Regions from separate parts of the Homo sapiens genome. Here all the other regions are linked to region 4. The links are contacts of gene promoters, found by promoter capture Hi-C in blood cells and fetal thymus (Javierre and others, 2016). All regions are on one chromosome and are shown on one strand. Each heading gives the region's core, a stretch centred on a gene start or on the middle of the fragment in contact. The rest is flanking DNA. Distances are from core to core; before and after follow the strand shown.

Region 1 (3,092 bases), core at 15-2,514, 450 kb before region 4:
CTTTGGGAGGCAGAGGCGAGCAGATCACGAGGTCAGGAGTTCGAGACCAGCCTGACCAACATGGAAACCCCGTCTCTACTAAAAATACAAAAATTAGCTGGGCATGGTGGCACGCACCTGTAATCCCAGCTACTCAGGAGGCTGAGGCAGGAGAATCACTTGAACCTAGGAGGCAGAAGTTGCAGTGAGTCGAGATCGAGCCACTGCACTCCAGCCTGGGCAACAGAGCAAGACCCTGTCTCAAAAAAAAAAAAGAAAAGAAAGAAATCATCTCAGGCCGGGCGCGGTGGCTCACGCCTGTAATCCCAGCACTTTGGGAGGCCAAGGCAGGTGGATCATGAGGTCAGGAGATCGAGACAATCCTGGCTAACACGGTGAAACCCCGTCTCTACTAAAAATACAAAAAATTAGCCAGGCGCTGTGGCGGGCGCCTGTAGTCCCAGCTACTCGGGAGGCTGAGGCAGGAGAATGGCATGAGCCCGGGAGGTGGAGCTTGCCGTGAGCTGAGATAGCGCCACTGCACTCCGGCCTGGGCGAAAGAGCAAGACTCCATCTCAAAAAAAAAAAACAAAAACAAAAACAAAAAACAAAGAAATCATCTCTAGGCTTATAAGTTACAAAATTGTATCACCCGCCCTAGACCTCTCTCCTGAAAGCCCGACCTCTCACATTCAGATGCCTGTTTGGCAAATCTATTAAATGTTCAATGTACTACACACATTCAACCTGCCAAACACCTGGTCTCCTCTACCTCCAATCTTCTCCTGTCATCTTTCCCATGTTAATAATGGCAACCTGGTTCTTCCAGTTGCTCAGATCAAAAAATGTTGGAAACATCCTTGAATCCTCTTTTTTTGTTACCTCCCCACATCCAATCAACCCATCAACGAATCCTATATCTACCACCTCCATGGCTACCACCTGGTCCAAGTCACCACCATTTCTCAACTGGAGTATTGAATAACCTGCTAACTTGTCTGTGAGTTTCCACCTTTGGAAACCTTCACTTTACTCTCCTAATAGTGAGCAGAGGAATCCTTTTAAAACAAAAGTGAAATTATCAGTCCCCTGATCAAGACCCTCTTGTGGTTCACCAACTCAGTGAAAGCTAACGTCCTTAAAATGGCCTGCAAAGCCCTACACAGTTCTTCTCCACTACCCCCAGTGTCACCTTTTCAGCCATGATAACCTTCCCTCACCTCATTAAAGTCATAATAACATCCCTTGCACCCATACTTCCTAGCACCCTTCTCTTCTTCTCTTCTTGATTTTCCTTCTCCTGTTTTTTTTTTTTTTTTTTTTTTTTGAGACAGTCTCACTCTGTTGCCCAGGCTAGAGTGCAGTGGCACTACAACCTCTGCTTCCTGGGTTCAAGTGATTCTTGTGCCTCAGCCTCCCACGTAGCTGGGGTTACAGATGCCCACCAACACGCCCGGCTAATTTTTATATTTTTAGTAGAGTCAGGGTTTCACCATGTTGGCCAGGCTGGTCTCAAACTCCTGACCTCAGGTGATCCACCCATCTCTGCCTCTCAAAGTGCTGGGATTACAGGCGTGAGTCACTGCTCCCAGCCTTTCCTTCTCTACTTGATCAGGTTTATCACCATCTGATCCCCATATATTTTATGAATTTATTTCTTTATTATCCACCCCTTTAGAATAAAACGAGCTTGATGAGGGCAAGGATTTTGTGTCTGTTTCATTTACTGCTGTATGTCTAGTACCTATAACAGTGCCTGGCACATAGTAAGCACTCGGTAAATTTCTGTTGAATAAATAAACTGATTAAAGGAGGCTTCCTGTATTATGATTGCCTCTCTCCATGTTGGTCTCCTGTATGCCACTGGGAGTCCTTTGAAGGTCGTCACTAGGACAGTTCATTTTTGCATGTAGATTGTGCCTGGCACACAGTCAACACCAGAAAGTGGTTGTTCATTTTATGTTTCAGAGCACCTTGGTGGTTCCGACGGTGTGGTAACAAGGTCTGAAACCTTACAGCCGTGCATTCTTAATCATGAAAGTGTCCAACCGGGGTTGGAAATTTTCAACGATGGTCCATGAAGTGCAGATGTGAGGTGCACTGTGCCTGAGCCAGACGGTTCTCATTGGACCTTTTGGGTTCTGCAAATTCAAAGCAGGAAAATTGGAATGCAGCTTCAGTTAAGTGTATATTTAGTAAAAACATGTCCTGGCAGTATTTGTTACTTATTGGGAGAAATGCATCTTACATTTGGCTGTCTTCAGCCTTTAAGTTTCTGCCAGACTCCAGGAGAAGGCTGAAGGGAAGGAGAGGAGCATGTTTGTGGGATCAATGCATATACTCACACATGCCATTATTGACATGCCATGAAGTGCAGCTCCTGCTTGGGGATTTAGGAGGTAATGTCCAAAGCCACACAGACCAACCAGGCCCAATAAAGCAGAGTGAGTAATACACTGTGCATGGTGGTTTTGGGTGTGGTTTGAAAACAAGCATCACTGTTAAATACGTTAAATACGATTAGAAGGAAACCTAAAACCACAGGGTGTGGACTTTTATGTTGGGGGTGTGTATATTAGATAATCTTCACATGGACCTTTTCATTGTATCAGCTTCTCACGGAGCAGCTTGAATGGCACCTCCTCAGAGAGCCTTCTCATGGTCATTTGCTCTAAGTCTGTTTTAGCCGAGCACCGTGGCATAAACCTGTAATCCCAACAATTTGGGAGGCTGAGACAGGAGGCTCACTTGAGCCCAAGAGCTCAAGACCAGCCTGGGGAAAATAGGGAGACCTTCTCTCTACAAAAAATAAAAAAATAGCTAGGTGTGGTGGTGCACCTGTGGTCCCAGCTACTCAGGAGGCTGAAGTAGGAGGATCACTTGAGCCTGGGAGATCGAGGCTGCAGTGAGCCATGATCATACCTCTCTACTCCAGCCTGGGTGATGGAATGAGACCCTGCCTCCAAAAAACAAAACAAATAAAAAAAAAATAAAGACTGTCTTTTTTTTTTTTTTTTTTTTGAGACGGAGTCTTGCTCTGTTGCCCAGGCTGGAGTGCAGTGGCACCATCTCGGCTCACTGCAACCTCCACCTCCTGGGTTCAAGCGATTCTG
Region 2 (3,294 bases), core at 117-2,616, 430 kb before region 4:
TACACACACCAAAAGAAGCAAAAAAAAAAAAAGAGAAAAACTCTATCATAAGACTATCTTCTCATTACCTAAGGGTTTCAGTTAGATTATATCTTGGCTAAATGAGATTTCACCATTTTTGCAACCAGCCAGAATAAAAAAGCTTCCTACTCTCATAAGAACCAGGTGAATGTCTCACTGTGGATAAACAGTTGTCTGCTAATGTGGCACTTACACAAAGGGAGATTATTATTGCCAGAAAAGACGCTATCCAGAAGCCATAAACTAAAAACACTACAGAGGTATTTTTGAACAAACATTGGACTCCCATTTCATTTGGTTGAGTCAGGGTTATGTTGCTCAACTGAATTCACTGGGAAATATTCTGGAGTCCAAAAGGCAAGGTTGCTTCAGACCCCACTTCCTGCCCAGAAGGAGGCCCAGAGGGTTTCTCAGCTTGTGCAGTGCGTGGCATTGTAGTATCCTGGATTTCTTCTCCCGTCACAGTGCAAGAGAAGTGAGGACTCGGAGCTACTGCCAGCCGCCTCCTCTGCTTCCTGCCCCTTCATGCAGCACTATGCTCACTCTTGCATGTATGCACATCCAAGTATTTGCACACACACACACACACACACACACAGGTCTGTGTGTACATGCACACACTCATAGGCAAAGACTTCTTTTCTTCATGACAGTTTAACATGGAGTTGCCTCCCTCCATTTCTGGTGAGGAGCAGGCAGGCGTGCCTTCCACACACAGCTTGCTGCTCACAGTGGCAGCAGAAGCCCGCAGGAGGGAACCTCATTCCCTATGTGGCTGCAGGTTCACTGCTGTGGTCCTCTTCAGCCTCTAGTCGCTTGCTGCTAGTGGCCCTGCTAGAGAACCGGGGTTTCATGCACACTTGCAGTCAGCTGTACAGGCCTCGATGTGTGGCAGCCTATGGATGTCTATCTGAACAAGGTGCTTGGGGTCGCACTGTGGGCTTTTCCTGTGGAGTGGTTTTGGGGGGATTTCCCCCTCTGTTTTATCTCTCCTGGCCCAGGGTTGTCATGTAGGAAGTCATCTTATCCTACCAACCTTATGTTTCTCTTCTCTATTACTGTGTATTGTTTCTATTTTATAATTTTTTTTTTTTTGAGATAGAGTTTCACTCTGTCACCCAGGCTGGAATGCAGTGGCGCCACCTCGGCTCACTACCACCTCCAACTCATGGGTTTAAGTGATTCTTGTGCTGCAGCCTCCCAAGTAGTGGGAATTACAGGTGCACACCACCACACCTGGCTAATTTTTATATTTTTAGTAGAGACGGGGTTTCACCATGTTCACCAGGCTTGTCTGGAACTCCTGGCCTAAAGTGAGCCTCTTGCCTCGGCCTCCTAGAGTGTAGAGATTATAAGCATGAGCCACAGTGCTTGGCCTCTATTTTAGAAAGCTAATGGCATTTTGGTTTTTTGTTGTTGGTAGTAATAAAGCACATTTAGAAACACAGGAGAATATGCAGTGAAAACTGAGCTGCCGCCTCCTCCTGTTCCCAGACTCCAGTTCTACCTCCTGATCCCCACCCCACACAACTCCCGTGACCTCCTTCTTTATATCCTATCAGAGAAGTTTTTCTCCCTGTGTGAGCCTGTGTGTGAGTTCCTGGGTTTGAATGTATTTTACATGTGTGAAAGCTCACCACATTCATTGTTCTCTACTTTTTTTCCGTCAAGTTGTGAATTGAATTGGTAATTTTTTTTTTTTTTTTTTTTTTTGAGACGGAGTCTCGCTCTGTCGCCCAGGCTGGAGTGCAGTGGCGGGATCTCGGCTCACTGCAAGCTCCGCCTCCCGGGTTCACGCCATTCTCCTGCCTCAGCCTCCCAAGTAGCTGGGACGACAGGCGCCCGCCACTACGCCCGGCTAATTTTTTTTGTATTTTTAGTAGAGACGGGGTTTCACCGTTTTAGCCGGGATGGTCTCGATCTCCTGACCTCGTGATCCGCCCGCCTCGGCCTCCCAAAGTGCTGGAATTGGTAATTTTTAAAAAAACACTGATGATTGACAAAAGTTGGCAAGCAGTTAAAACACTTGCTTTTTTCATTTAGTCTATGATAAATATAATTTTCAAGTGATCTTTTTTTTTTTTTTTTTGAGACGGAATCTCGCTCTGTTGCCCAGGCTGGAGTGCAGTGGTGTGATCTTGACTCACTGCAACCTCCTCTTCCTGGGTTCAAGCAATTCTTCTGCCTCAGCCTCCCAAGTAGCTGGGATTACAGGTGTGAGCCACCAGGCCCAGCTAATTTTTATATTTTTAGTAGAGACAGCGTTTCACCGTGTTGCCCGGGCTGGTCTCTAACTCCTGGCCTCAAGTGATCCGCCCACCTTGGCCTCCCAAAGTGCCGTGATTACAGGCATGAGTCACTGTGCCCGGCCCTCAAGTGATCTGTCTTAAATATGTTTTATTTTCTTCCCGATTTTCTATCCCACCAGCTCCTGAAAGGCCCAAATAGACCCAGTCATGTTTCTCAAGCAAAATTTAATTTTAGTTGCTCACAGGAAGAGATTTCAAGGGGAAGAGACGGATTCCACATGTGAGCTATAAATGCAGCCAGTTTCCTGTCAGCATTTTCTAGAAGCTTTAACTTGACGATGAATGTCTAATGTGCATTTATCACCAGAAACCTAAAGGAGTTTTGATTTCTTAATTATCTAAATATAGCTACCTCTGGGAACTCATTTAATAATAAGTATGGGTTCTACAACTAATTACTGGTTTCTCTGTGAACAGTGCGTAAAACTCCTTTCTCGTCAAAGGAAATCTCAGTGATAAAACAGAGTTGTATGACTGAGAACCCCAGTTGTGAATGTAAGACACAGGATAAGTGCACAACATTCTTGAGAATCCTGGGACCTCAGGAAGTTCGTACTTCATTCTCCTGCCTTAGTACAACAAGGGGCTCCCAGATGTAAGGAGATGGCTGAGTCCAAAGAATTGTTGAAGGTCTCTCAAGCTTTTTCTTTTCTTTCTTTCTTTCTTTTTTTTTTTTTTTTTTTTTGAGACAGAATCTTGCTCTGTTGACCAGGCTGGAATGCAGTGGTGCAATCTCGGCTCATTGTAACCTCTGCCTCCCTGGTTCAAGCGACAATCCTGCCTCAGCCTCCTGAGTAGCTGGGATTACAGGCATGTACTGCCACACCTGGCTAATTTTTTTTTTTTTTTGGTATTTTTAGTAGAGGTGAGGTTTTGCCATGTTGGCCAGGCTGGTCTCCAACTTCTGACCTCAGGTGATTCGCCTGCTTTGCCCTCCCAAAGTGCTAGGATTACAGGCATGAGC
Region 3 (3,002 bases), core at 344-2,843, 500 kb before region 4:
AGGTTGCAGTGAGCTGAGATCATACCACTGCACTCCAGCCTGGGAGACAGAGCAAGACTCCACCTCAAAAAGAAAAAAAATGGTAATAGACGCATGTCACAAACATGTATACAACTGCTCACGAATAATAAAGTGTGAAACAATAAGCAGGCCCAGGACTAAGAAAAAAAATGAGGCTGGGCGCAGCGCCTCACACCCGTTATCCCAGCACTTCACTTTGGGAGGGAGAGGCAGAAGGATAACTTGGGCCCAGGAGTTTGAGACCAGCCTGGGCAACATAGCGAAACCCCGTCTCTCCAAAAAATAAAATATTAGCAGGGTGTGGTGGCATGCGCCTGTAGTCCTAGCTACTCAGAAGGCTGAAGTGGGAGGCTCCCTAGGGTCCGGGAGGTCAAGGTTGCAGTGAGCCATGACTGCACCACTGCATTCCAGCCTGTGCAACAGAGCAAGACCCTGTCTCAAAAAAAGTAAAGTAAAATGAGTTCCTCCTTGCATAATCTCTCAGTTGGCAAAAATAAATATATAAAGTACATTTTGGTTTCAATTATTTATTTTTAAAAGGAGGCTGGTTCCCAGTAAAACCTGAAAAATACACCAATACTGAAAGCATGAGTACAGGAAGAGCCTTCAAAGAAGCAGTCATCGAAGCAGAAGGAAAACAAAGAGCACATCACTAAAGAAGAGAGGGGTTGGGTTATTTATGTTTTGGATGGTGGTATTCTGAAGGCAAACTTTTGACAGCGAAGTCACTGCAAATGATACTGAAGGAAAGATGAAAGACCAGTTTATCTGGAAAATAACAATACAGCCCTGATATTTATCCATCAGAATTTCACTTTTACAGGTGAACACTTAAGCATATTCTAGGAAATAGAATTTTACCTGGCTTGACTAATGGTCTCCAAGGACCAGGTCTTGAGTCATCACCCCGTCTGGGAAACCGATCATCATCAGCACGTCTTGAAAGGCGATCATCATCCATGTTTCTCCAAGGGCCCCTGTCATCCTCTGCACCACGCCTGGGAATTCTGTCATCATCGGCGTTCCTCCAAGGTCCTCGATCATCATCCAACCCTCGCCTGGGACCCCGGTCATCATCCATGCCTCGCCTGGGACCCCGGTCATCATCCATGCCTCGCCTGGGACCCCGGTCATCATCCATGCCTCGCCTGGGACCCCGATCATCATCCAACCCTCGCCTGGGACCCCGGTCATCATCAGCATTACGCCAGGATGATCGCTCATCATCAGCGCCTCCTCGCCTCGGCCCCCGGTCATCATCCATCCCACGTCTTGGTCCTCTGTCCTCATCAGCTGTTCGCCAGCTTCCTCTGTCCTCATCCAGTCCTCGTCTAGGTGGTCTGTCATCATCCGCATGACGCCAGTTTCCCCTGTCTTCATCGGCAATTCGTCTGGGAGGCCTGTCATCATCTGTGTTACGCCAGGAAGGCCGGTCATCGTCTGCCCCACGACGAGAGAACCTATCTTCCTCAGGACCACGTCTAGGGCCTCTGTCATCATCCATGCCACGCCGGGGAACCCGATCATCGTCTGGTCTAAGAGAGGGCTCTCTATCTTCATCATCCCCCAGACGCCGGGGCCGCTCTTCATCTCTTCTATGAGACCTGTCCTCATCTCGCCCTTCTCCACGTCTCCACTCCCTACACAGCAACAAGAACAATTAAAAATATATAAAATAAAAAAGCATATGATCCTTTGGGGATTTTTTTTTTCACATGCTTTTTAAAAACTTCAGTATGGGCCGGAGCAGTGGCTCGCACCTTTAATCCCAGCACTCTGGGAAGCAGAGGCAGGCAGATCACCTGAGGTCAGGAGTTCAAGACCAGCCTGGCCTGGCAAAACCCATCTCTACTTAATTGTAAGACATGCGGCTGGGCACAGTCGCTCACACCTGTAATCCCAGCACTTTGGAAGGCCAAGGCGGGAGGATTGCTTGAGCCCAGGAGTTTGAGACTAGCCTGGGCAACATGTCAAAACCCCATCACTATAAAGAATATAAAAATTCACCAGGCGTAGTGGCCCACACCTGTAATCCCAGCACTTTGGGAGGCCGAGGCAGGCAGATTTCTTGAGGTCAGGAGTTCAAGACCAGCCTGGCCAACATAGTGAAACCTCGGGTCTACTAAAAATGCAAAAATTAGCCAGGCGTGGTGGTGCATGTCTGTAATCCTACTTGGGAGGATTACAAGTGCCTCCCAGCTACTTGGGAGGCACAAGAATTGCTTCAACCCAGGAGGCGGAGGCTGCAGTGAGCCGAGAACGCGCCACTGCACTCCAGCCTGGGTGACAGAGCTAGATTCTGTCTCAAAAACAAAGAAACAAACAAACAAAATTAACCAGGCATGGTGGAGCGCACCTGTGGTCCCAGCTACTCAGGAGGCTGAGGCAGGAGGATCACCTAAGCCCAGGGAGGTTGAGGCTGTAGTGAGCCGAGATCGCGCCACTGCACTCCAGAGTGAGACGCCATCTCAAAACAACAACAACAACAACAAAAACAACAACACAGGCCAAGTGCAGTGGCTCATGCCTGTCATCCCAGCAATTTGAGAGGCTGAGACAGTCAGATCGCTTGAGGTCAAGAGGTCAAAGCCAGCTTGGGCAACATGGCAAAACCCCATCTCTACTAAAAATACAAAAAGTAGCCAGGTGTGGTGGCACACACCTGTAATCCCAGCTATTCGAGAGGCTGAGGCACTTGAACCCAGGAGGCAGAGGTTGCAGGGAGCCGAGATAGCGCCACTGCACCCCAGCCTGGGCAGCAGACCCAAAAAAACAAAATACAAACCCACACGCAATCAGACATGCACACAATTCTTCATGGCTCTCCTTTCCCTGCCTCTACAAAATGAACCAAATTTTAAAACCACTGATAAGATATTAACAGGAACTGGAGCGGCATTATTTTCCTCAACTCTACTTACTTCTCTGGCGGGCCTCTTCTCCACTCAGAATCTGCTTCAGGTCCTTTTCTCCAGGTGCCT
Region 4 (3,190 bases), core at 18-2,517:
AAAAGGCGAGTAGCTACTGTTATTCCCACTGTGCAGAACCTCATTCTGCAGAAAGGTCCCACGGCTGGTGAATATGGCGAAGGTGAGATTCGGATCCAGCCAGTCTGGTCCCAGTCTCTAAACCACAATGTCCCTCATAAAATACCAGGAGCAGAAAGGAAATGCACCAACGCGTTGGGACTCTGAGCGCCAAGCAGAAGTGAATCTTGGCGTGGGAAGCCCGGCAAAGCCCCCGAACTTCAGAGTCAGGGGAACCTGGGTTTGAAAGCCTCCCCATCACCTGCGGAGTGTGACTGGGGCAAGTTACCTAACAGCGCCTGGCTTCCGCTCCCTCCTCACTCACCGGGTTGTCCTAGGGGTGAAGGGAGAGTTCACCCAACGCGGTGGACAAAGCCCTTGGCGCACCCAAAGGCCTGCACAGGTCGTAGCTATTGTGATGAGCAAAAGGGTGGAAGGACCGGAATCAAGGGCACGGCTCCACCTTCACCGTGGGGTCTTTGGCCTATCAAGTTGCCCGAGATCGTGGCTCAGGCTGGCCCAAAGTGACGGCCAAGGCGAATCCTTCGTAACGTCAGAACTTCGCTGGCTCGGACCGCAGAAGTGCCCTTCTCCATCCTGGGGTTCCGCCACCCTCGCGATCCCACCTTTTGGCTCCTCGCGGCAGAAGCGAAGGCCCCCGACGCCCCAGGCCCAGGGGCCCAGTCGGATGCCCGGGTCCAGCCGTGCTCCCCCGGGCGCTCGGCATCCTTCCACCCACGCCCGCAGCGGAGGCGGAGAGCGTCACGGAGGGAGAAGCCCGCGCGCCGTTCCGCTTTCGGAATCTGGAGCCCCATGTCACCTCCAAAGTTTGGAGATTTGGGGCGCTCCTTTTTCTCCCAGACCATCACTAAAAAGAAAACTGCGGCTGTTCCTCTTTCAGCCAAACTTCCTCCCCGGGGCTCCCGGAGGAGCTCTGCGCTCCCGTCGCGGCTGGGACCGCGAAGGTGCGGTACCCAGCGGGGAGAGGTGGTGCGGTCGGCCGGGGCTCCAGTCTGGGAGGTACCACCGAGCCGCGCCCGAGCACAAGAGGGAGGGCAGGAGGCCGGGCGGGCGAAACGGCGCCCCGACCCCGAGCCCGCGGGCCCCCGAAGCCGCTTACCTGACGGCGGCCGCTTCCTGCTCAGCCGGCTCACGGCGCGGTTGAACATCGCCGCGGGCGCCCGAGGAGGAAGAAGGAGCAGCCCGGCGGCGCGGCGGCTGAGCCGGAGGAAGGCGAGGAGGAGGAGGAGGGCGAGGAGGAGGAGGAGGAGGGCAAGGAGGAGGAGCGGGCTCAGCACCGCCCCGGAGCTCTAGGTCCCCGCCCGCCGCCCTCCTCCTAGCCAGGCGCCGCGTGGCGCGCTCAGTGCGCCCTGCCCGCCCCCGCTGGTGAGGACTCGCGGTTCCGCTCCGGGGTGCCCGGGCGGGGCAGGGCAGGGCAGCCCCGGGTGACCCCCGATCGCCCAGAGTGTGCCCCGCGCCTGGGATAAGGTGCACTGGCCCAGAGGGAGCCCGCGCCGCCGGGAACTTAGTAGCCCCGCGGAGGCGGTTAGCGCGTCCCGGGGTCCCTGGCCCTCGCCTGAGATGCCGCCCCGGCCCGCCCCGCCCAGCTTCAAGCTCCCGGGCCCATCGCGGTCTCCCGCCTTCTCCCTGTAGCCCCGGAGAAACTGGCACGGCGCCGCGGGCGCACCGCGCTTCGGGGCTCTCAGCGAGCCTTCGCAGGTGGCGGGCGGGGTCCCCTCCCGGGTCACAGGCTGGGAAGCCTAGGCCTCGCGGTTCTGCAGAGTCCGGGCGCGGCCCAGCCTGTGGCCTTTGCCTCCTCGTCACCAGGATCCCCGCCTGCTGGGGCCTGGCTGCTCCTCGACTTCGTGGGCGCTGCGCCTTCCCGCCCCGCGAATGCGGGTGGGGCGTCCCCAGGGCCCGTGCGCTGAGCTAGCCGAGCCGCCGCGGGTGGGCGCCCTCTCCCCGGCCGTGCCGCGCGGGCGCCAGGACTCGGGGAGATCTGAGAGGATTCTGCAGGAACCCCCCGGTTCCTGCGCCGGGCGGTGCTCTGTCCCGCACACCGCGCTCTCGGGACACTTCTCTAACTTTGGGGACACGTGGGCACTGCCTCTGGCAGGGCCTTCAGGCTCCACGACCGGGACCACTCAAGCCCCCACGGCGTCACCTGCTGGGCGCTGCGCGCTCTACGGTCTCCTATTATTTCATTTCTTCTATGGAGCAGCCCCAGAGGGGATGTCATTAGCCCCCATTTTCTTGAACATTTGGTTTGCAAGAAATTGTCTTTCTGGCGAGTTTTATTTTTCTCCTTGTGTATCTGGCTTTGTCTCTAAATTGGTCTTTATTTTTAGCTGTACTAATTGCTATTTTTCCAAACCGTTCCCCAGTCGCCCTCCCCCCATCCCCCCGTCCTTTTGCAGTTTTTTTCACTACTTGGCACTTTCTTTTGTATCTTCTATTCTGAGCTTCCAGTTCTGCTCACTTTCCCTCTCCCTCTACCCACCCCACAGCCCCAGTTGCACCCCAAGTGTGGCCGGTGGTTGCTTGTTGTTTCCCTCCCCGCTATTCCCCCTCCAAAAGTCGTTTTCCTCCGAGCATTTCCAAGCACTCTCCCCCTTCTGCTGCCAAAAGAGGATTTCCAGGCTCCTGAAGCGAACGCGGTGACCAAGAACAGGGTTAGACCCAGCGCGGGGAGTTCTGCTTTTAAAACTGCTGTTGTTGGCCTACTCCGGGCCCAGACAAACTTCCATCTCATTGTAATGGGATCAAGCTGTGATACTTAACTATAGGCAAGAGTTTCACCTTTCGTAAGAGCGGGATTTTAAATGCTGGCAGAGTCCTGGATCCAAGTGAGGTCACTGCGTTCTTAAAACAATAAGGGAATTGGTGCAACGCACTCACCCAGAAAACTTCCCCGAGACCAAATTACAAGTAATCCTAAGACAGGAAATAAGCACACTGGCACACAGGGGTAAAAGTTAGGCACAGCAGCTCAGTGTTTTGCTAGTTGCCAAGTCCACCCTAGCGTGTCCTGAAAAACACTGGTGTGGCTTAAGACATGCTATGAATCCCTCCTGAGCTAAGAACCCCAGGCATCTCTTAAATAAAGGGAAAATATAACAGCCTTAAATCACTTTTACTGTCCTGTTAGCACATCAGAGAGTAAGTACAAAAA
Region 5 (3,266 bases), core at 205-2,704, 480 kb before region 4:
TACATCACCATGGTGCACTATACTCATAAATATTATTCCATCAAAGCATGGGAGTAAGAGAAATGGGCTGTGTTTAAACGAATACTTGGAGAATCAGGACTTCATCTATCCACTCAGTACTGTCAGTGTTTTCTAGCTTCAGAAAAAGATTGTGATTGACCAGGCGCGGTGGCTCACGCCTGTAATCCCAGCACTTTGGGAGGCCAAGGGGGGCACATCACGACGTCAAGAGATCGAGACCATCCTGGCTAACACGGTGAAACCCCATCTCTACTAAAAATACAAAAAATTAGCCAGGCGTAGTGGTGGGCGCCTGTAGTCCCAGCTACTCAGGAGGCTGAGGCAGGAGAATCGCATGAACCCGGGAGGCGGAGCTTGCAGTGAGCCAAGATCGCGCCACTGCACTCCAGCCTGGGCGACAGAGCCAGACTCTGTCTCAAAAAAGAAAAAAAAAGAAAGAAAAAGATTGTGATTAAATGACAGAAAACACACATTCATATACCCCAGACTTCCTTACAAAATTAAGGCAGGTTTAAAAACTAAGGAAATGGCTAGGCGCAGTGGCTCACGCCTGTAATCCCAGCACTTTGGGAGGCCGAAGCAGACGGATCACCTGAGGTCACGAGTTCCAGACCAGCCTGGACAACATGGTGAAACCCCATCTCTACTAAAAATGCAAAAATTAGCCAGACATGGTGACAGGCGCCTGTAATCCCAGCTACTCAGGAAGCTGAGGCAGGAGAATCAGTTGAACCCAGGAGGCGGAGGGTGCAGTGAGCCAAGATTATGCCACTGGACTCCAGCCTGGGGGGCAGAGTTAAGACTGTCAAAAAAAAAAAAAAAAAAAAAAAAAAAAAAAAAACCTAAGGAAGTAAGTGGCAATAAGGCAGAAAAAAATTTTAAGAATCAGAAGTGAACACTATTATGGTAGTGAGGGAGAGGGGGAGACAAGAACCAGGAGCTAAATTTTCACATCCCTGAAAGACAAGAAGTCAGGCTGCATTCAGAGCATGGCAGGACCCCAAAGACTGCGAGCCCTGGAGCTGAAGGGCTAGCATCTCCCCTTCGCCATTTCCAAGACTGTGACCGTAGGCAAGATACTTAATTTTCTGAGTCATAAGGCTACTGCAAAGATTAAACCAAATAATGTACTAAGAGCTAGACAGCCTAATGCTCACTATTATTGTAGTACTCTCTGAAGGCAAGCTTATGTGTCTGGAAGAACATGTTTTTCCTTAAAACAAACAGATGTGGACCAGGCGCAGTGGCTCATGCCTGTAATCCCAACACTTTGGGAGGCCGAGGCAGGTGGATCACCTGAGGTCAGGAGTTCAAGACCAGCCTGGCTAACATGGTGAAACCCCGTTTCTACTAAAAATACAAAAAAAATTAGCCAGGCGTGGTGGCGCACGCCTGTAATCCCAGCTACTTGGGAGGCTGAGGCAGGAGAAGCGCTCGAACCCGGGAGGCAGAGGTTGCAGCGAGCCAAGACTGCGCCATTGCACTCCAGCTTGGGCAACAAGAGCAAAATTCTGTCTCAAAAAAAAAAAAAGGATGTGAATTACATAAGTGACAGTGGATGCCATAACGGACACCATCCTCAAGAGTTTCTAAGAAAATATGCTAGTGGCCAAGCACAGTGGCTCATGCCTATAAATCCCAACACACTCGGAGCCTGAGGCAGGTAGATCACTTGAGACCAGAAGCTTTGAGACCAGCCTGGGCAACATAACGAGACCCTGCCTCCACAAAAAAAATTAAACATTAGCTGGACGTGGTCGCGCTCGCCTGTAGTCTCTGCTACTCAGAAGGCTGAGGTGGAAGAATAGTCTGAGCCCAGGAGTTCAAGGATGCATGCAGTGAGCTACAACACACTACTACACTCCATCTGGAGCAAGGAAGCAAGACCCTATGAGAAAGGAAAGAAAGACCGTATCAGAAAGCAAAGACATAGAGAACAAAGAAGAGAAAGAAAGAAAATATACTAGTGGGACTCATTTAATTGGTCCCATGAATTGCTCTAAAATAGTTTTACATAAGAAAGACAATTTGCTTTACATAATTCTACTGGATAACAAAATAATTGGTGGACCAATACAAGAAAACAGGTGGTATGTGTGTTGCCTAAGTCCAATAGCATTTTTTTTTTTTGAGATGGAGTCTTGCTCTATCGTCCAGGCTGGAGTGCAGTGGCACAATCTCAGCTCACCACAAGCTACGCCTCCCAGGTTCAAGCCATTCTCCGGCCTCAGCCTCCCGAGTAGCTGGGATTACAGGCGTGCACCACCACACCCAGCTGATTTTTGTATTTTTAGTAGAGACGGGGTTTTGCCATGTTGGCCAGGCTGGTCTTGAACTCCTAACCCTAAGTGATCCACCCACCTTGGCCTCCCGAAACTGCTGGGATTACAGACATGAGTCACTGCGCCAGGCCAGAAATGTATTTTTTTTTTAAGTGACAGAAAACAGGTTATACGTAACGTTAAAAATAATAAAATGGAAGACTATGCCTTCGGGGCTCATTTCTATAGTTTGTTGCTAGAGAAGTTTCTCTGAACGTGTGGAGCACAGGGAAAAAATTGGTCTATAGGTTGTTGGGTTATAGACCCTTCCTTTTATATTCATATGTATTTATATGAGAATAAACATGACCCAAATATTCTACACTTAATATTTTGCAATCAGGAAAAAATGACTTGATAGAAGTATTTACCCTGCCAGGCGTGGTGGCTCACACCTGTAATCCCAGCACTTTGGGAGGCCGAACCAGGAGGATCATCTGAGGACAGGAGTTCGAGGACAGCCTGGCCAACATCATGAAACCCCATCTCTACCAAAAATACAAAAAATTAGCCAGGCATGGTGGTGCACACCTGTAATCCCAGCTACTCAGGAAGCTGAGGCAGGAGAATTGTTTGAACCCAGGAGGCGGAGTGAGATCGCATCATTGCACTCCAGCCTGGGCGATAAGAGCGAAGGCTCTGTCTCAAGAAAAAATAAAATAAAATAAAATACAAGTCAGGCGCGGTGGCTCACTCCTGTAATCCCAGCACTTTGGGAGGCAGAGGCAGGTGGATCATGAGGTGAGGAGTGGAGACCAGCCTGGCCAATATGGTAAAACTCTGTCTCTACTAAAAATGCAAAAATTAGCCGGGCATGGTGGTGGGTGCCTGTAATCCCAGCTACTCCAGAGACTGAGCCAGGAGAATCGCTTGAACCCAGCAGGCAGAGGATGCAGTGAGCCAATATCGTGCCACTGCACTCCA
Region 6 (3,376 bases), core at 692-3,191, 360 kb before region 4:
AACTTGTCTGGGGTGGGACGGGGGCAGTGCTGTGTTCCTGAAAGCTCCCAGGTGACTCTAACGTTTGGCCAGGGTTCAGAGCCCCTGTCCAGAGACGATGGTTCATTTTTCCTTTACCTGGCTCCAGCCAAGACATGACATAACACTTACTGGTGCTGAATAATTTTGCTTGACTGGAACCAGAACACAATAAATTTGTCAAGCTCGTTCTTCCACATGCAGCAGGCCTGAGGGCTGCAGTGGCAGAAATGCCCCAAGGAATGGCACTCACATGTCGGGCAACCTGGAAAGAGAAACTTTTTATTAGAAAGTTTTCCTGGACTGGTGACTGAAGGCTGAAAGGGCATCGTGCCAACGGTGGTTTCAGCTGTCCCTGTTCCTGTGAACCAAATAGCAAACCCCAAACTCTAAGAGCATGGATTGGATCTGCATGTTCTTAACACTCCCTTCTGCTTCCTTCTCCTAGGAGACTGGAAGGTGGAGAGGAACTATAAGAACACAAAGACCGGCTGGGCGCGGTTGCTCACACCTGTAATCCCAGCACTTTGGGAGGCCAAGACGGGTTGATCACCAGGTCAGGAGTTCGAGACCAGCCTGGCCAAGATGGTGAAACTCCATCTCTACTAAAAACACAAAACTTAGCCAGGCGGCGGTGGCGGGCACCTGTAATTCCAGCTGCTTGGGAGGCTGAGGCAGGAGAATTGCTTGAACCCGGGAGGCAGAGGTTGCAGAGCCGAGATCGCGCCATTGCACTCTAACCTGGGCGACAACTCCGTCTCAAAAAAAAAAAAAAAAAAAATCAGAAACTCCATGCGCTTAAAGCAACACAGGGTTCAGAAGCCAGGGGACTTGTGCAGGCTTTTCCCAGCACTATCTGCTGAGTATGTTCTACCATTTCAAGGTTTTCCTTAGAAAAACAAGGCCCCTCCAGCACCAGCGACAAGTAAACAAGAAGAGCCAAATTCAGCCTCTGGGAGTCTGTTAAAGGCTCAAGGGACATGTTTACTCAACTTTTTTTTTTTTTTTTTGAAACAGAGTCTCGCTCTTTTACCCAGGCTAGAGTGCAGTGGCGCGATCTCGGCTCGCTGCAGTCTCGACCTCCTGGGCTCAAGTGATCCTCCCACCTTAGCCTCCCCAGGAGCACTGACCACCATGCCCGGCTATTTTTTTTTTTAGAGACAAGGTCTCACTATTATTGTCCAGGCTGGTCTCAAACTCCTGGGCTCAAGTGATCTGCCCGCCTCGGCCTCCCAAAGTGCTAGGATTACAGGCGTGAGCCACCGCACTCTGCCGGTTTGCTCAACTTTAATGTTCAAAATGACTCAGGAGAACGAAAGGGGCTGTGTTGAACCCCACCAGAGAAAGCCGTGTACCAAAAGAGCACGACGCATTGCCCACAGTTAAGCAGGAAACAGCAGCAGAAACACGCGGGAGTGGGATTGGGAGGGAAAGCCTTTGTGAGTTTTTTAGCACTTTGCGCGTTTTTATCCAGTATTTAAGGGGCTGTTCACAGCAACGCCTTGATGTAGGCATCATTCTTTCCATCTTAAGTACACAGTCTGAGAAAGGCGAAGGCGCTTGCCCAAGATCACAGGGTCGGTGGCAGAATCAGGGCCAGGACCTTAAGTGGAGATGGGCCTGGGGACCGGGGACGCCGAAAGAGGAGGGACTCGGGGAAGAGACCGCGAGGATGGAGTGGGGAAGGGCGGTTCTGCGCAGGCGCATGGAACCTTCCCGGAGGGAGGCCTCTGGGTCCGTTACCCGCGGAAACCCTCCAAGAAGGGCGAATGGCCCTCATGCCCAGAAGCGCGGGGTCCTGTCTGAGAAGCACGTTCCCGGAGCCACCAGTGTCTCCACGCCTGTCCCCAGCCGACAGCCACTCACCGACGCTCGGAGCAACCGTCCTACAGCAGCCGCCATCTTCAGTGCACTCGGGCGCCACGGGGCGGGCAGAGACGCAGGGGCGGGGCCTACGGGGTGGTGAGCGGGCCCTCTGCTGGTGGGGGGGCGGGGCCGGAGGAGCCACCGCCTCCCCGCCTCCTGGAGACCCTGAGGGAGAAATTCCCTTTAAGGCTGAATGCTTGGGCAAGTGACACGTGGTTTTCCTACTGTCGCCCCAACCTTAAAAGAACGAATCCAGGCGGGGCATTAGGTATTTGTTTCCATATTTCCCACTGTTTTGTTAACCTTGTGTGGATTACTGTGTCTAGTATTTCTGTGACAGGATCCCTTTCTTATTTCAGCCTCAGGTAGAGACTTCCGGCTTCTGTATGAAATGGAATTAATTACAAATGCAGTTTTAGTCCGTTAATAAGCTAAGTGGGCTAGACACATCAAGGCTTTGTTGGCCTGAAATCCGCTGGAATTGTGTGTGGTCTAACATTTGGCCTCTCTTCCCAAAATTGGGAAAACTGGGACAAATTTAAAATTTGGTTTTTGTCTATTAATGAAGCCAAGTGTTCAGTGGTGAGCATAGTACTTGAAGCAACCACATCAAACATAGATAAAAATCACACCGTGGCCTTACAGTAAGTGTGACAAATTGCAGTCTTGGAGCTGGTATTTTCTTTTCTCTTTTCTTTTCTTTTCTTTTTTTTTTTTTTTGAGACTGGGTCTTGCTCTGTCGCCCAGGCTGGAGTGCAGTGGCATGATCTTGGCTCACTGCAACCTCTGCCTCCCGGGTTCAAGCGATTCTCCTGCCTGAGCTTCATGAGTAATTGGGATTCCTGAGCAGCTGGGATTACAGCCGCCTGCCACCATGCCCAGTTAAGTTTTTGTATTTTAAGTAGAGATGGGGTTTCACCATGTTGGCCAGGCTGGTCTCAAACTCCTGACCTCAAGTGATCCGCCCACCTCGGCCTCCCAAAGTGCTGGGATGATAGGCATGAGCCACTGCACCCGGTCTGAGTTGGTATTTTCCAATCACTAGTCATTCAATTAGCAACTTCGTTTCTCAAGTCTTCTTATCACCAAATATCACTTACTATTTTCTTTAAATTGGCTTTCTTTTTTTTTTTTCCTTTTCTTTTTTGAGACAGAGTCTCACTCTGTCGTCCAGGCTAGAGTGCAGTGGCACAATCTCGGCTCACTGCAACCTCTACCTCCTTGGTTCGAGCGATTCTTCTGGCTCAGCCTCTCGAGTAGCTGGGATTACAGGCGTGCACCACTAAACCCGGCTAATTTTTTTAGTATTTTTAGTAGAGATGGGGTTTCACCATATTGGCTAGGCTGGTCTTGAACTCCTGACATCAGGTGATCCTCCCACCTTGGCCTCCCAAAGTGCTGGGATTACAGGCGTGAGCCACCACACCCAGCCCAGTATATTTTCTAAAATCATCTCAGGTACCACTAGGCGCCACCCTGGGTACCAGTCCCC
Region 7 (3,268 bases), core at 60-2,559, 380 kb before region 4:
GGATGGGTTGAGGCCAGGAGTTCGAGACCAGCCTCTATTTTGTAGAGGTAGCGAGACCCCCACCTCCATAAAAAATTTAAAGCCAGGTGTGGCGGCATGACCCTGTAGTCCCAGCTACTCAGGAGGCTGAGGTAGAAGGATCAGCTGAGCCTGGGAGTTGGAGGCTGCTTTGAGCTATTATGGTGCTACTGTACTCCAGCCTGGGTAACAGAGCGAGACCCTGTCTCTAAAAATGACAATAATAATAAAGTATGTACATAAAATTACTATAACATGGCCAGGCACAGTGGCTCACGCCTGTAATTCCAGCACTTTGGGAGGCCAAGTGGGCGGATCAGAAGGTCAGGAGTTCGAGACCAGCCTGGCCAACATAGTGAAACCCTGTCTCTACTAAAAATACACAAAGGAAAAAAATTAGCTGGGCATGGTGGCAGGCACCTGTAATCCCAGCTACTCAGGAGGCTGAGGCAGGAGAAATCACTTGAACCTGGGAGGCGGAGGTTGTAGTGAGCCGAGATTGTGCCACTGAACTCCAGCCTAGGTGACAGAGCAAGACACTGTTTCAAAAAAAAAAAAAAAGAAAGAAATCCTGCTGGGGGAGAAATAATTAAAGCAAGGCAGGCAGAGTTTTCTTTTCTTTTTTTTTTTTTTTTTGGACACGGAGTTTCACTCTTGTTGCCCAGGCTGGAGCGCAATGGCATGATCTCAGCTCACTGCAACCTCCGGCTCCCGGGTTCAAGTTCAAGCAATTCTCCTGCCTCAGCCTCCTGAGTAACTGGGACTACAGGCACGTGCCACCACAATGCCCAACTAATTTTTTACATTTTTAGTAGAGACGGGGTTTCACCATGTTGGCCAGGCTGGTCTCGAACTCCTGACCCCAGGTGATCCGGCAGGCAGAGTTTTCTAAGTGTTAGAAACTACATCTTCCCAACCCACTTCTGAAAATTAGAACCAACTCACCTGCAGGTCGAAAAAGCTTGGGGATCAGGTTGCTGCTGTCGGGATGCACTGTTGCCTTCAAAAGGAGAGATGCAAGGTTAGCTGGATGTCTGGTTTTGTTATTATAGGACACTAAAAATTAGGAAGGGGCTGAAACTTACAAGACTCCGCTTCCAAGCTTCTTGTATCTTAAAGGAGAAAAAAGAATAGCTTTGTTTCATTTTAAATTTTTTTTAAGAGACAAGGTCTTGCTCTGTCACCCAGGGCTGGGGTATAGTGGCACAATCATCACTCACTGCAGAACAGCCTCGAACTACTGGGTTCAAACGATCCTCCCACCTCACCCTCCTGAATAGCTGAAACTACAGGCTCACGCCACCATTCCCAACTAGTTGTTTAATTTTTAGTAGAGATGGGGTCTTGCTATACGGCCCAGGCTGGTCTTGCAGTCTTGGCATCAAGTCATCCTCCCAAACCATTGGAATTACAGGGTTAAGCCATCACACCCAGCCTTAAAAAAACAACAACAACAACAAAAAAAAACAAAAAAAAAAAAAAAGCTTTTAAAGGTGGCTCAACAGCAAAGAATTTCTTTGCCTGTCTCATTTCTGGGACCACATTTGTTCTACCTTTCAGAGAGTGAAGGCCAGAGCTGTTATTTACCACATTGACAGAACAAATCAAAATAAATGGATCATATGAATAAACAAATGAACTAATGACAAGCAAAGAGACGAGCCACACAGAGAAATGGACCAGAACATTAAAAAGTCCTGTCTCTACCCTTGGAGAATACCAACACCTAACTTATCCCTCAGATGAGTCCCCGAATCCGGCTTGCCTCTGGCTCAGAGCAGAGCAGGCTGTGTGCTGATGACACACCATGCCATCAGTCAAGTTACTTGCAACAGAGCCAAGCTGTCAGCCCAGGGTCCCCAGCACATTCTTAGAAAAAGTTAAATATGTGAGCTCTCCATAGGCTGTCTTGAGGAGCTGGTGTTTGTGAGCTCCAGAAAGCCCCACATACTGCAAGGTAGATAAGGAACAGTCCGTTTGAGCCTATCGGCAGGAACGCTGCCTGCAGTGGAGAATGAATTCTGACGTCAGAGCCCTGTCTGAATTCTGGGGTTTGCCACTGGGCTCCAGGAATCAGCTGCAGGGAATCCCCACAAATATCCACTGTGTAGGAGGAAACTTGCTGTCTGGTTTATGGGACAGAATTCTAACTACATTTAAAAAACTAACCCAGTTTTGCAAAGCTGGTCCTCTGGGCAGTATATAACAATGACAGCATTAATAGCCAATAGAACAGTGGCTCCCAAGGGAAGGAAAAAAGAAAGAAAAGAGACGGAGACAGAGATTAATGGCCAAATTCCACCTGACTTCAGACCATGCAGGCAGAACCATCTGAGGGCAACCAGCCAGACCTGAGCACGTGAAACATACCCTTTGGTCCGCCGAGGCAGGGCTGGAAACATCTTCATTTGTGCACAATAGTTGCCTCGAGTTTTCTATACTTTCCTAAAATCAGATATCAAGTAATCAAGTAATGATCTCAACATTGTTCAGGTTTATCCCCAGAGGTAGGAATCACCAGCTCACTCACCAGCATGCACTGGACTTCGACTGCATGCCTGATTTCAAGCCACATGGTGCCCTAGGCTCTCTATCCATTAGGATAGCCCTGAGTGCCATTCAGATTTATGCCTTCCTCTTCCTAGATGCTCCAGCAGCTGCCCCCAATGGTGCTGTCACCTCCCCCACTCTCTGATGTCAACTGTCGCACTGAATGGTTACCACCATCCCCTGGCTATACATGTCAGAAACCTAGAAGTCCTTCTCCCTCACCCACTTCCATGTCTTATCAGTTCAGTCTTATTTCCTCTCTTTTTCTTTCTTTCTTTTCTTATTGTTTTTTAAGAGACAGGGTCTCACTCTGTTGCCCAGGCTGGAGTGCAGTGGTGTGATCATAGCTCACTGCAGCCTTAAACTTCTGGGCTTAAGTGATCCTCTTGCCTCAGCCTCCCAAATAGTTGCGACTACAGGCACAACCCACTACACCTGGCTAACTTTCTATTTTTATTTGTACAGATAGGGTCTCGCTACATTGCCCAGGCTGGTCTCAAATTCTTATTCTCGAGAGATCCTCCCATCTCAGATTCTCAAAGTGCTGGGATTATAGACATGAGCCACCACAGCCAGCCTCCATTTCTTAATTTGAGAAAAAATAAATACAAAAATTACAAAGAATGGCTACACACTATAATCCCCTCACCCAGAATTAACAACTGTAAACATCTGGTTATATTTGCTTCTAATTTTATTA

What was found. Contacts are between HindIII fragments. The CHiCAGO score rates a contact against its expected background, and 5 or more counts as called.
Region 1: a contact is called between a fragment that was not itself captured here and the fragment with the promoter of RGS10 in region 4, in 1 of 17 cell types (naive CD8 T cells). The highest score is 5.0, in naive CD8 T cells.
Region 2: a contact is called between a fragment that was not itself captured here and the fragment with the promoter of RGS10 in region 4, in 12 of 17 cell types (naive CD8 T cells, non-activated CD4 T cells, naive CD4 T cells and 9 more). The highest score is 10.1, in naive CD8 T cells.
Region 3: a fragment that was not itself captured here is called in contact with the fragment with the promoter of RGS10 in region 4 in 3 of 17 cell types (naive CD4 T cells, naive CD8 T cells and non-activated CD4 T cells); the score reaches 7.2 in naive CD4 T cells.
Region 5: a contact is called between a fragment that was not itself captured here and the fragment with the promoter of RGS10 in region 4, in 1 of 17 cell types (activated CD4 T cells). The highest score is 5.8, in activated CD4 T cells.
Region 6: a contact is called between the fragment with the promoter of PRDX3 here and the fragment with the promoter of RGS10 in region 4, in 11 of 17 cell types (non-activated CD4 T cells, endothelial precursors, fetal thymus and 8 more). The highest score is 11.9, in non-activated CD4 T cells.
Region 7: a contact is called between a fragment that was not itself captured here and the fragment with the promoter of RGS10 in region 4, in 11 of 17 cell types (activated CD4 T cells, non-activated CD4 T cells, total CD8 T cells and 8 more). The highest score is 9.9, in activated CD4 T cells.

The regions. Positions count from the first base shown.
Region 1 is chr10:119,088,687-119,091,778 of GRCh38, forward strand. No RefSeq gene overlaps it. Among named protein-coding and RNA genes, the nearest start is that of EIF3A, 9.4 kb to the left of the region's middle. The HindIII fragment of the contact is 8,979 bases long and covers 1-3,092 here.
Region 2 is chr10:119,113,672-119,116,965 of GRCh38, forward strand. The region is part of intron 3 of DENND10 (DENN domain containing 10); the gene reads left to right. Among named protein-coding and RNA genes, the nearest start is that of DENND10, 11 kb to the left of the region's middle. The HindIII fragment of the contact is 2,453 bases long and covers 141-2,593 here.
Region 3 is chr10:119,041,112-119,044,113 of GRCh38, forward strand. EIF3A (eukaryotic translation initiation factor 3 subunit A) reads right to left here. Exons shown (of 22, transcript NM_003750.4): 18 at 2,943-3,002; 19 at 883-1,661. Among named protein-coding and RNA genes, the nearest start is that of NANOS1, 13 kb to the left of the region's middle. The HindIII fragment of the contact is 5,604 bases long and covers 1-3,002 here.
Region 4 is chr10:119,541,452-119,544,641 of GRCh38, forward strand. It overlaps RGS10 (regulator of G protein signaling 10), which reads right to left and starts at 1,268. Exons shown (of 5, transcript NM_001005339.2): 1 at 1,139-1,268. The coding sequence starts at 1,187. RefSeq lists silencers at 721-890, 941-1,680, 1,691-1,760, 1,811-1,970 and enhancers at 2,181-2,260, 2,523-3,031. The HindIII fragment of the contact is 10,649 bases long and covers 1-3,190 here.
Region 5 is chr10:119,065,678-119,068,943 of GRCh38, forward strand. The region is part of intron 6 of EIF3A (eukaryotic translation initiation factor 3 subunit A); the gene reads right to left. Among named protein-coding and RNA genes, the nearest start is that of SNORA19, 7.2 kb to the left of the region's middle. RefSeq lists an enhancer at 928-1,429. The HindIII fragment of the contact is 500 bases long and covers 1,205-1,704 here.
Region 6 is chr10:119,176,871-119,180,246 of GRCh38, forward strand. PRDX3 (peroxiredoxin 3) reads right to left here and starts at 1,942. Exons shown (of 7, transcript NM_006793.5): 1 at 1,885-1,942; 2 at 151-283. The coding sequence starts at 1,920. RefSeq lists enhancers at 821-1,465, 1,465-1,944 and a silencer at 1,975-2,084. The HindIII fragment of the contact is 12,445 bases long and covers 1-3,376 here.
Region 7 is chr10:119,159,952-119,163,219 of GRCh38, forward strand. It overlaps SFXN4 (sideroflexin 4), which reads right to left. Exons shown (of 14, transcript NM_213649.2): 3 at 2,389-2,463; 4 at 1,104-1,130; 5 at 964-1,018. Among named protein-coding and RNA genes, the nearest start is that of SFXN4, 4.1 kb to the right of the region's middle. The HindIII fragment of the contact is 382 bases long and covers 1,119-1,500 here.